2 separate regions of the Homo sapiens genome follow, and region 1 is linked to region 2. Evidence: promoter capture Hi-C in human tissues and cell types (Jung and others, 2019). All regions are on one chromosome and are shown on one strand. The core of a region is centred on a gene start or on the middle of the fragment in contact, and the rest is flanking DNA. Distances in the headings are between cores, read along the strand shown. Region 1 has its middle 7.5 kb from the start of MIR8071-2. Region 2 holds the start of TMEM121 (transmembrane protein 121).

Region 1 (4,997 bases), core at 244-2,743, 120 kb before region 2:
ATGCTTCCTGTTCCATGCTGGACGTTTCTTGTTCCACTCTGGATGCTTCCTGTTCCATGCTGGATGCTTCCTGTTACATTCTGGATGCTTCCTGTTCCATGCTGGACATTTCCTGTTCCACTCTGGATGCTTCCTGTTACATTCTTGATGCTTCCTGTTCCATGCTGGACATTTCCTGTTCCACTCTGGATGCTTCCTGTTACATTCTGGATGCTTCCTGTTCCATGCTGGACATTTCCTGTTCCACTCTGGATGCTTCCTGTTACATTCTGGATGCTTCCTGTTCCATGCTGGACATTTCCTGTTCCACTCTGGATGCTTCCTGTTACATTCTTGATGCTTCCTGTTCCATGCTGGACATTTCCTGTTCCACTCTGGATGCTTCCTGTTACATTCTGGATGCTTCCTGTTCCACTCTGGACGCTTCCCATTCCACTCTGGATGCTTCCTTTTCCATGCTGGACCTTTCTTGTTCCACTCTGGATGCTTCCTGTTCCATGCTGGATGCTTCCTTTTCCATTCCGGACACTTCCTATTCCATTCTGGACACTTCCTGTGCGACACCTCCTCGGGCTTTTGGTCTGCCCAGTCCCTCTGGCCTCATACCATCCCCCCTTACCTCCCACTTCCACGTTCGTCCTTCCTCAGCTCCTCCCTCTCTCTAGAGCTTCGGCCTGGCAAGGTCCCTCCTGATCTCAGTCCAGGCTCCCCCAGCACAGGTAGGAGACTTGCACCTGCCCTTGGACCTCCCCACCCTGCATGATGCCAGCATCCCCCAGGCCCCAGGGAGGCCCCATTTCTCTCTCTGCTTGTAGTCCAGTGGCCCTGGAGTGCCACTGCAACTCGGGTGTGCCCCTCGCCTCTGAGGAAGCTAAGTGCCCTAAGCTAAGCAGAGGCCATCCCCTCTGCTCAGCCCCAGGGCCCTGCCCCCTACCCCTTCCCCTCACCTGCACCACAGGCTCTGGCCAACTCTGCCCAGGCTCTGAATGGGCCCCTCTGGCTCCCCTCTGCTGCTACACTGCCCTGCACCACCTCCACTCAGCTTCAGTGTGTTCATCCACCTGTCCCACGTCCCCTCGGCCCCCAGGAGCACAGCTGGTGGCCCTGGCTCCTGGCAGCCCATCTTGTTCCTTCTGGAGCACCAGCCTCAGAAGCCTTCCTGTGCAGGGTCCACTCGGCCAGCCCTGGGACCCTCCTGGTCTCAAGCACACACATTCTCCCTGCAGCCAGACCTGCCCCTGCCTGTGAGCTCAGACCTGAGCCTTGGAACGCCTTCCCTTCTCCATCCCAGCTCGCCTTTGCCAGCTGCTCAGCGGGATGAACTCACACTCCCCTCCCTGCACCATGAGTGAGAGCCAGCTGGAGAGACGCCCAGGCCAAAGCAGCCACCAGGGCCCAGTGGGGGTCAGAAGCTTCAGGTGAGAGGCCCAGGTATTGAGAGGCTGAGACCACGGGCAGAATGGTCATAATCACTGCCAGTATCAGTCCAGCCCCAGGGACTCAGAGACAGAGAAAAGAGCAGTGAACAAGGTCCGGGCTCCCCACCTTCTCCCACGAGTATGGGGGCAGCCACCACCCCCATCCCCACACACCCATGAGGCAGCCTCGGCTGTGTCTGGACTCCCCCTTACCCTGTGACACAGAAACCACCAGAAGAAAAGGGAACTTCAGGAAGTAAGCGGTGCCGCCGGTTTCAATCCTGTTCTTAGTCTTTGCAGCGTGGAGTTCACACCCCTGGGGACCTGAGGGCCGAGCTGTGATTTCCTAGGAAGACAAATAGCAGCTGACGGCGTGGGCAAGTCTGCCCACATGTACCGCGCCAAAACAGGAAGGGCTGAGACCCCCACCTCGGTGAGTAGGGTCAGCACAGGGCAAGGGCACAGGCTCGGGAGGAGAAGGACAGAGCCTGGGTGCAGCCGTGGGCGCTCCTGGACCTCAGCTGCTGAACAGGCTACAAGAGGCTGGGGAGACGTGGGGGCAAGGCCAGCCCCACATGGAGACCCAAGCGGAGCCAGCACGGGGGAGGTGGGCAGCCTTCAGGCACCAACGCCCACCCAGTGCAAGATGACGGGGACCGTGGGCAGGGGCTTCCAAGCCAACAGGGCAGGACACACCAGAGGCTGACTGAGGCCTCCATGACGACCAGGCTGGGAGCACGAGGAACCTGACGGGATGCGGCAGAGCCGGCCGTGGGGTGATGCCAGCATGGGCAGGACCCACCTGAGCTGAGGAGGCAGTAGAACGAGGGAGGAGGAGAGGCCCCAGGTGAACGGAGGGGCTTGTCCAGGCCAGCAGCATCACTGGAGCCCAGGGCAGGGTCAGCAGTGCTGGCCGTGGGGCCCTCTCTCAGCCAGGACCAAGGACAGCAGGTGAGCCGGGAGCAGAGCAGGGAGGGTGAGTGTGGCAGCAGGACAGGAGGGTGGAAGCCAAGGAGCCCAGAGGCAGAGGCAGGGACAGGGGAGGCACAGGGGCTAGGCTCAGAGCCACCTGATGGCGCTGGGGCACCTGCTGGCGGGGAGCAGGGCTGTGGTCAGCAGCGGAGTGGAGGGGAGAGCTGTGCTGAGTGCACAGATGGGAGGAGGGAAGAGTCCAGGGAGGCCCAGAAAGGCCCAGAGTGCAGCAGGCCTGGGGCGAGGGGAGGGGTGAGGCTCCGTGCGTTCAGGGAGCTGACCCAGCAGAGCAGAGGCCACTGAGGAGCTGAGGTTCTGGAGAGGCTTCCAGAGCAGGAGCAGTGCAGGGACGGGAGGATCTGGGAGCTCACCCAGGAGGGGCACATGGGCAAGGGCAAGGGGCTCTGTTGGGGAGACCTGACTGGACACTGGGGCTGCTCCACAGCATAGGGAACAAGCCAAGTGCTGCAAAAACAAAAATGAGGCCAGAAAAACAGCCCAAACCTGGACAGAGGGTGCCAGGACAGGCAGGGGGGCAACAGTGACCTGAGTGACATTGCTGCCCGGGTTGAGGGAGGGCAGAGTGAGCAGGGGGCAGGCATTGGAGTTCAGGGTACCAGGACCGAGCAGCCACAGGTGAGCAGGGCAGGTGGGGGCAGAAGGAGCAGGGGGCACCTCCTGGAGCTCAGCAGACCAGGGCAGAGCAACTGAAGGTGAACAAGGGCAGGTGGGAGGCAGGATGAGCAGGGGGAAGACCCTGGAGCTCAGGGGACCAGGGCAGAGCAGCCTCAGGTGCCTCAGGTGAGCAGGGGCTGGTGGGTGGCAGGACGAGTAGGGGACAGCTCCTGGAGCTCAGGGGACCAGGACAGAGCATCAAGAGCTGAGCATGGCTAGTGGGAGGTGGGCGAACAGGGTGCAGCCCCTGGAACTCGGGACCAGGGCAGAGCAGCGGCAGGTGAGCACGGGCTGGTGGGAGGCAGGAGGAACAGGGGGCAGCTCTGGGACTTCAGGGGACCAGGGGAGGGCATCTGAAGGTGAACAGGGGCTGGTGGGGGCAGGAAGAGCAGGGGGAAGCCCCTGGAGCTCAGGGGACCAGGGCAGAGCAGCCACAGGTGAGCAGGGGCTGGTAGGAAGCAGGAGGAGCAGGGGACAGCCCCTGGAGCTCAGAGCACCAGGGCAGAGCACCCTCAGGTAAGCAGGGGCAGGTAGGAGGCAGGACGAGCAGGGGACAGCCCCTGGAGCTCAGGGGACAGAGGAGAGCATCAGAAGGTGAGCAGGACTGAGGCTTAGCCTCAGGGAATCAGAGCAGAGCAGCCACAGGTGAGCAGGGCCGGTGGGAGGCAGGACGAGCAGGGGACAGGCACTAGAGCTCAGGGCAAGGCAACCACAGGTGAGCAGGGCCGGTGGGAGGCATCACTCAGCTCCTAGATTTTGGCAGGAGCTGGGTAGTTGCTGGCAGCAGACAGCTGAGGGCTGGTGAAAGTGCAGTGCAGCCTCCTGGTGCCAGGAAGGGAGTGTGAGCCCATCCCACTGAGCAGTTGGCAAGGGTGAGCTGGGATGGAGAAGGGAAGGCATTCCAGGGCTCGGGGCTGAGCTCTCAGGCAGGGGCAGGTGTGGCTGCAGGGGGAATGTGTGCTTGAGACCAGGAGGGTCCCAGGGCTGGCCCCAGCGGACCCTAGGCAGGAAGGCCTCTGAGGCTGGCGCCCCAGAAGGAGCAAGATGGGCTGCCAGGAGCCAGGGCCACCAGCACAATGAAGCTGAGTGGAGGTGGTGCAGGGCAGTGTAGCAGCAGAGGGCTGCCAGAGGGGCCCATTCAGGGCCTGGGCAGAGTCAGCCAGAGCCTGTGGTGCAGGTGAGGGGAAGGGGTGGTGAGCGGGGCCCTGGGGCTGAGCAGAGGGGATGGCCTGGCTGAGGGCAGGGCACTTAGCCTCCTCAGAGGTCAGGGGCACACCCCACCTGCAGTGGGACTCCAGGGCCACTGGGCCAGCGGCAGAGAGAAATGGGGCCTCCCTGTGGCCTGGGGGTCCTGGCACCACGCAGGGTGGGGAGGGCCAAGGGCAGGTGCAAGGCTCCTACCTGTGCTGGGGGGCCTGGGTTGAGCCCAGCAGGGACCTTGCCGGGGGAAGCTCTGGAGAGAGGGAGGAGGTGGGCTGGTGGCCGAGAAGGCCAGGCCAGGGCTGGGAGGGTGAGGTTGTGGTGACTGAGCCTCCAGAAGTAATGCAGGACACTGGGAGGCAGGGGGCATCCAGGCACTCAGGGCCCTGACCTGGGCTGCTGCACACTGGGGCTAAGGGGAAAGGAGGGGAGAGGCTGAGGAGGAGGCTCCAGGAGGCTATTCCAAGGCAGGGGGTTCCGGGGCCCTGGGGCTGAAGGGCGCCGACCCTATGCAGTGTCTGGCCCCTCTGCTGCACAGAAGAAAAGGGCCTTGGAGGGCAGAGGGCAGGCTATGACCAGGGCCCTGGGCAAGTCAGGCCCACTCACTAGCGGAGGGCCACGCTGGGGCGGCAGGGTCAGGAGCTTCAGGGGACTCGGGGGACCCACGAGAAGCCATCTGAGAACAGTGTCCACTGGTCAAGCCAGGCACCCATAAAAGGCTGGAGTGGGGCC
Region 2 (5,245 bases), core at 434-2,933:
CAAGGAGGCCTCGGCCCTCCCAGGCTTTCTGATCCCGGACCGAGAGCCACCCAGGTCCCGATGCATCCGTCCCACAAGCCTCTCCGAGCCTCCCCGCCCCTGCCCGGCAGCCCCCACGCCCCTCCTCCCTGCACGGGCAGGCTCGGTCTCCCCTCCTGTCCACCATCCTGGGCGCGTGGCCACTGCCTGCCCTGCTCCCCATGGCTCCGCATTGCCTTGGCGAGGTGTTGTCCCCCACCCTCTGCCCCGGCAGAGCCACCCTGCTTTGCTCCTCTGCGCCAGGGCGATGCCTGTGGCTGCCCTCGAATCTCGGGAAGCCCGTCCACCAAGGCCCGTCGGGCTTCCACAGGCCCCTGCACCTCTGTCACACACCTGGCACTGGTCCTCATGGCCGTGCTGTCGGAGTCCCCGCACCTGGGCCTGTGCACACCTGGGTGACAATGGAGGCCCGCACACCCGCACCCACCCCAAAGTCACTGACAGGCTTACTCCCAGCCAGCCCCTCACCCCCTCCACAGCCCCAGGCCTGGGGCTCCGTTTACTGCCGTGTCTAGACAAAGGCATAAAATTTAATGTCCCCGTGACAGTCGGGCGCTCGGACTGCCCTGGTGACACCGCAGGCCCCACCGATCCGGGAAAGCGTTGAACTCTGCACTCCCACCCCTGCCCCCACCCAGCACCCGCCGCCCAGGATCCCCACAGCCACACACAGGACACCCCCACCCCTCGGAGCTCTGACAGGTCGCGAGGAGGGTGCCTTGAGGGTCCTCAGCCCATGCCCCTGCCTCCAAGCCTCCCCGCGCTCTGGGTCCCACCGGGACACTCACCCGGTTTTCACGTCCACTGGATCTACACGTCTGACCCAGGAAGCCCTCTCTGGGCCCATTCCAGGCCCACCTGGGCCTCCCCTAGCTGCAGCCGCAGCCTGAGAATTTCCTCCCTCTCCGCGCGTGGCGGGGCCAAATAAATAGCGGGGGAGCCACGGCGCCGCTCACCCTTTCCGGCCGTGCCTCCAGCCCCTCCGCCCCACTACGCTGTCGCTCGATCCTCAGTCACTTGGCAGATGCGGGCCGAGGGGCTCTGCGCTGGCGAAGGGACGGACTCCAGCCCCTAGCGGAGCCCCTACCCCGGCAAGCCAGAGCCCGGCCCGGCCACCTCTCCGTAGGGACCTGGCCCCAGGCCCACCTGTCCTGGGTCTCCTGGGCCCCGGCCGAGGCCCCTCCTCCCCCCACGCCCCGCGGCTCAGACCTGGCACAGACTCTGGGGCCTCCAGGCCCTTCACTGCCCGGGCCCCGCAAGGACCCTCGCCCCATAACCACCCCTCGGAGCCCCCGGGAGGAGGGGCGGGAGGGGGCTGCTGTGCTCCCGCCGCGGGCCGGTGCAGAGCTTGGGCCGCTCCCAGCAGGCTGCGTCTCTGCTTGTCCCCCCGAGGCTTCCCCACGCAGGGCCGGGTCCCCGTCACCCCGCCGGCCCCAGGCCTCACCCCTGCCGCATCGGCCCCCGCCCCACCCCACAGTCCCCACGGCCCAGAGGTGCAGGGTCGCCCAGGCCCGCCGCCCCCTCCGCGGACGCAGCCGCGCACCCAGCCAGTCCCGCCCGCGCCCGCGCCTACCCCGCCGCCCGCAGATGCTGCGCCGCTCCCGGGCCCGCCCGCCCAGCCTCTGCCGCCACTGCCGGGGCCGCGCCGGCTCCTCCCGCCGCGCCCCTCCCCCGCCCGCGCGGCACCGCCCCCGACCCAGAGGCCCCGCCCCGCGCCCCTCGGCCCGCGAGCCCCGCCGGACCTGGGGACCTGGGAGCGCGGGGGTGCCGGTGCCCCGCCCCCTCCGCAGCGCCGGTTGCCACGGCGACAGCACCGCGCGGCGGCGCGCAGGACTGGTGGCTCTGGGGAGCGGGGCGCCCTCGCGCACCCCCAGGCGCGGAGTCCCGTCTCCACCCTCCTCACCCACCGCCCAGAATCCCAGGGTCCCGCCCAGTGCCCCCCGCGCCCTGAAACTCCGCTGCCGCCCCCTAGAGCGACCCCACTCAGCCGGACAGGCGCCCACCGGCCCAGGAGCTGACAGGGATGTAGGCGCGGGGCTGGCCTGGCCGCCGGGGCCCTCCGCGCCACCCTCTGTCCTCTTTGGGGAGAAACCCAGCCTTCCCAGGTTTCTTCTCAGGGCAGAGGAAAGGAATGATGAGCGGCCCCCACCTTCTTCTCCAGCCCGTCCAGGAGGCAAGCTAGGGTTTGGGGACTTGGGCTTCATTTTGTCACTGAGGTGGCACTAAGCCCCTCCCCCCACATCCTGTCCATCCCGTGTGAGCCAGAGAAGAACCCGAGGGCACCTTCTGCCTGCCTGCCCTCCTTCCCAGAACTGCTGTGACTTCCCTCTGACATAGGAGGAGACTGAGGGTCAGAGAGGTAAAGGGACACCAGATTTGGTGGAAAGACCAGAATTTGAGGCACCACCCAACTGGTAGTGAACTTCCAGATTCTCTTCCCGTATCCCCGGGCCTGGACTCAACACGGCCTGAAAGCCAGAAGAGGACAGAGAGCTCCAGAAGTTCTCTAGTCCTGGCACAAGGGGAGGAAAGAAAAAGGTCGCCTAATGCTCCCAGGGTGCAGGAGAATGCCCGGGGGGATGTTAGGGTTTGGGAGGATGGGGTTTTTTGGTAGTGGTTGTTTTTTTACTCTTCTCCATTCTCTGATGCCCCAGCCCCTAGGTATCCCACCAAAGCCATGACCAAGGCATAGGGTTTACAAGCACCTAAAACGCTGAGGCAGAAGAGCCTTCCTTTCCAGCCCCAGGAGATGTGGTCCCCTGTCGCTGGAGAGATGGTGGGCAGGGAGAAGCAGTAGAAAGCAATCCATGGGCTGGGCGTGGTGGCTCACACCTGTAATTCCAGCACTTTGGGAGGCCGATGTGGGCGGATTACCTGAGGTCGGGAGTTCGAGACCAGCCTGGCCAACATGGTGAAACCCCCATCTCTACTAAAAATATAAAAATTAGCCGGGCGTGGTGGCACACACCTGTAATCCCAGCTACTCGGGAGGCTGAAGCAGGAGAATTGCTTGAGTCCGGGAGATGGAGGTTGCAGTGAGCCGAGATCTTGCCACTGCACTCCAGCCTGGGCAACAGAGTGAGACTCTGTCTCAAAAAAAAAAAAAAAAAAAAAGCAACCCCAGGAAGTTGTGCAAGCCATACATGATGTACAAGTCTAAACCCTCATTCACATCCCAAAGGCTGAGAACTGAACAAAAGGACAGCCCACTGCCCACGTCCCACACTGGCCACTGGGCAGTGCATACGAAGGACAGATCTGAGTCCCACTGCAAAGGCTTTGAAAACAAAACCGACATGGAAGGCAGGACCCACAGGAGCCTATTTGAACTTGTGGCCTGAAACCAACTAGGTTGATTGCATGATAAAACAAAATGCCAACATTCTCAATGGGATTTAAATAAGACCAGTCTCATAACATAATGTCTAAATGTGCAGGAGACAATCTAAAATTACTCTGCATGTGAAGAATCAGGAAATCCAACCTGCAAGAGAAAAGACAATCAACAGCCGCCAATGCCAACATGACACAAAAACCCTCAACTAATTATCAGCAAATAGAATCAAGCAGCATTAAAAACACACACACACAAATACCCCAACCAAATGGAGGCTATCCCAGAAAGGCAAGGCTGGTTCAACATGTGAAAATAAATCGATGTGATCCACCATATTAGTCTCAAGAAGAAAACCATGTGATCATCTCAATCAATTCAAAGAAAGTATTTGACGGAATTCAACACTCATCCCTGATAAACACTCTCAGCAAACTAGAAAGCAAAGGGAACATGCTTAATCTCATAAAAGGAATCTACAAAAAGCAACAACAAAAACAACAGGCCAGGCATGGTGGCTCACCCCTGCAATCTCAACATTTTGGGAGGCCAGGAGTTCAAGACCAGCCCGGGCAACATGGAGAGATTCCATATCTGTTATTTTTAATTAAAAAAAAAATTAGGCCAGGCACTGTGGCTCATGCCTCTAATACCAGCATTTTGGGAGGCCAAAGTGGGCGGATTGCTTGAGCTTGAGTTCAAGACCAGCCTGGGAAACATGGTGAAACCCTGTCTCTACAAAAAATACAAAACAATCTGGCCGGATGTGGTGGCTCACGCCTGTAATCCCAGCACTTTGGGAGGCCAAGGCAGGCAGATCACCTGAGCTCAGGAGTTCTATGCCAGCCTGGGCAACATGGCGAAACACCATCTCTACTTAAAACACACACACACACACACACACATTAGCAGGGTACAGTGACACACACCTGTAATCCCAGCTACTCAGGAGGCTGAGGCATGAGAATCGCTTGAACTTGGGAGGCAGAGGTTGCAGTGAACTAAGATCGCACCACTGCACTCCAGTGTGGGCAACAGAGGAAGACCCTGTCCAAAAAAGAAAAAAAAAAAAAAAAAAAACCTCTGCATCTAATGTGATACTTAATAATGAAGGACTAAATGCTGAGCCCTAAGATCAGGAACAAGGTAAAGATGTCCACTCTATTCACTCCTGTTCCACAGTGTACTGGCAGTCCTAACCCATGCAATAAAACCAGAAAAATAAAAGGCATACAGATTAGAAAGGAAGAAATAAAGATGTCCCTATCCATAAATAACATAAAAGTCTATGTCGAAAATCCCAAGAATTTTACCAACAAAAAAGTCAGAATACTAATAAGTGAGTTTTGCAAGGTTGCAGGATGAAAACACAGAACTCAGTCCTGTTTCTATATATTAGCAATGAACAATTGAAAACCAAAATTTTTAAAAGCAATGCTATTTAAAATGGTCCCCCAGTAAATTTATTCGTTTGGTATTAATCTAACAAGACTGGTACAGGATTTGTATACTGAAAACTACCAAATGCTGATAAAAGAAATCAAAGAAGGCCTAAATATGTGAGAGGCATGCTGTGTTCCTGAATTAGAACAAATATAGTTAAGATACCAATTCTCTCCAAAACGACTACGGATTTAATGCAATTTCAATTAAAATTCCTGTCGGAAATTTTATAGGTATAGAAAACCTTGTTCTGAAATGTATATAGAAATGAAAAGCAACTAGTTGCCAAAATAATTCTGAAAAAGAAGGGAAAAAGTTGGAGGGTTCTCACGAATGGATGTTTTTGTTGTTGTTGTTTTTGTTTTTTTGGGTTTTTTTTTTTTTTGAGACTGAGTCTCGCTCTGTAGCCCAGGCTGGAGTGCAGTGGCA

What was found. The method cuts DNA at HindIII sites, captures the fragments that hold promoters and counts their contacts. A contact is called where the count stands out against the background at its distance.
Region 1: a fragment that was not itself captured here is called in contact with the fragment with the promoter of TMEM121 in region 2 in 2 of the 25 tissues and cell types used here (lymphoblastoid cells and spleen).

Annotation. Positions count from the first base shown.
Region 1 is chr14:105,645,180-105,650,176 of GRCh38, reverse strand. It overlaps IGH. Among named protein-coding and RNA genes, the nearest start is that of MIR8071-2, 7.5 kb to the right of the region's middle. The HindIII fragment of the contact is 3,601 bases long and covers 1-3,293 here.
Region 2 is chr14:105,523,021-105,528,265 of GRCh38, reverse strand. TMEM121 (transmembrane protein 121) reads right to left here and starts at 1,683. Exons shown (of 2, transcript NM_025268.4): 1 at 1,613-1,683. RefSeq lists a silencer at 1-25. The HindIII fragment of the contact is 20,488 bases long and covers 1-5,245 here.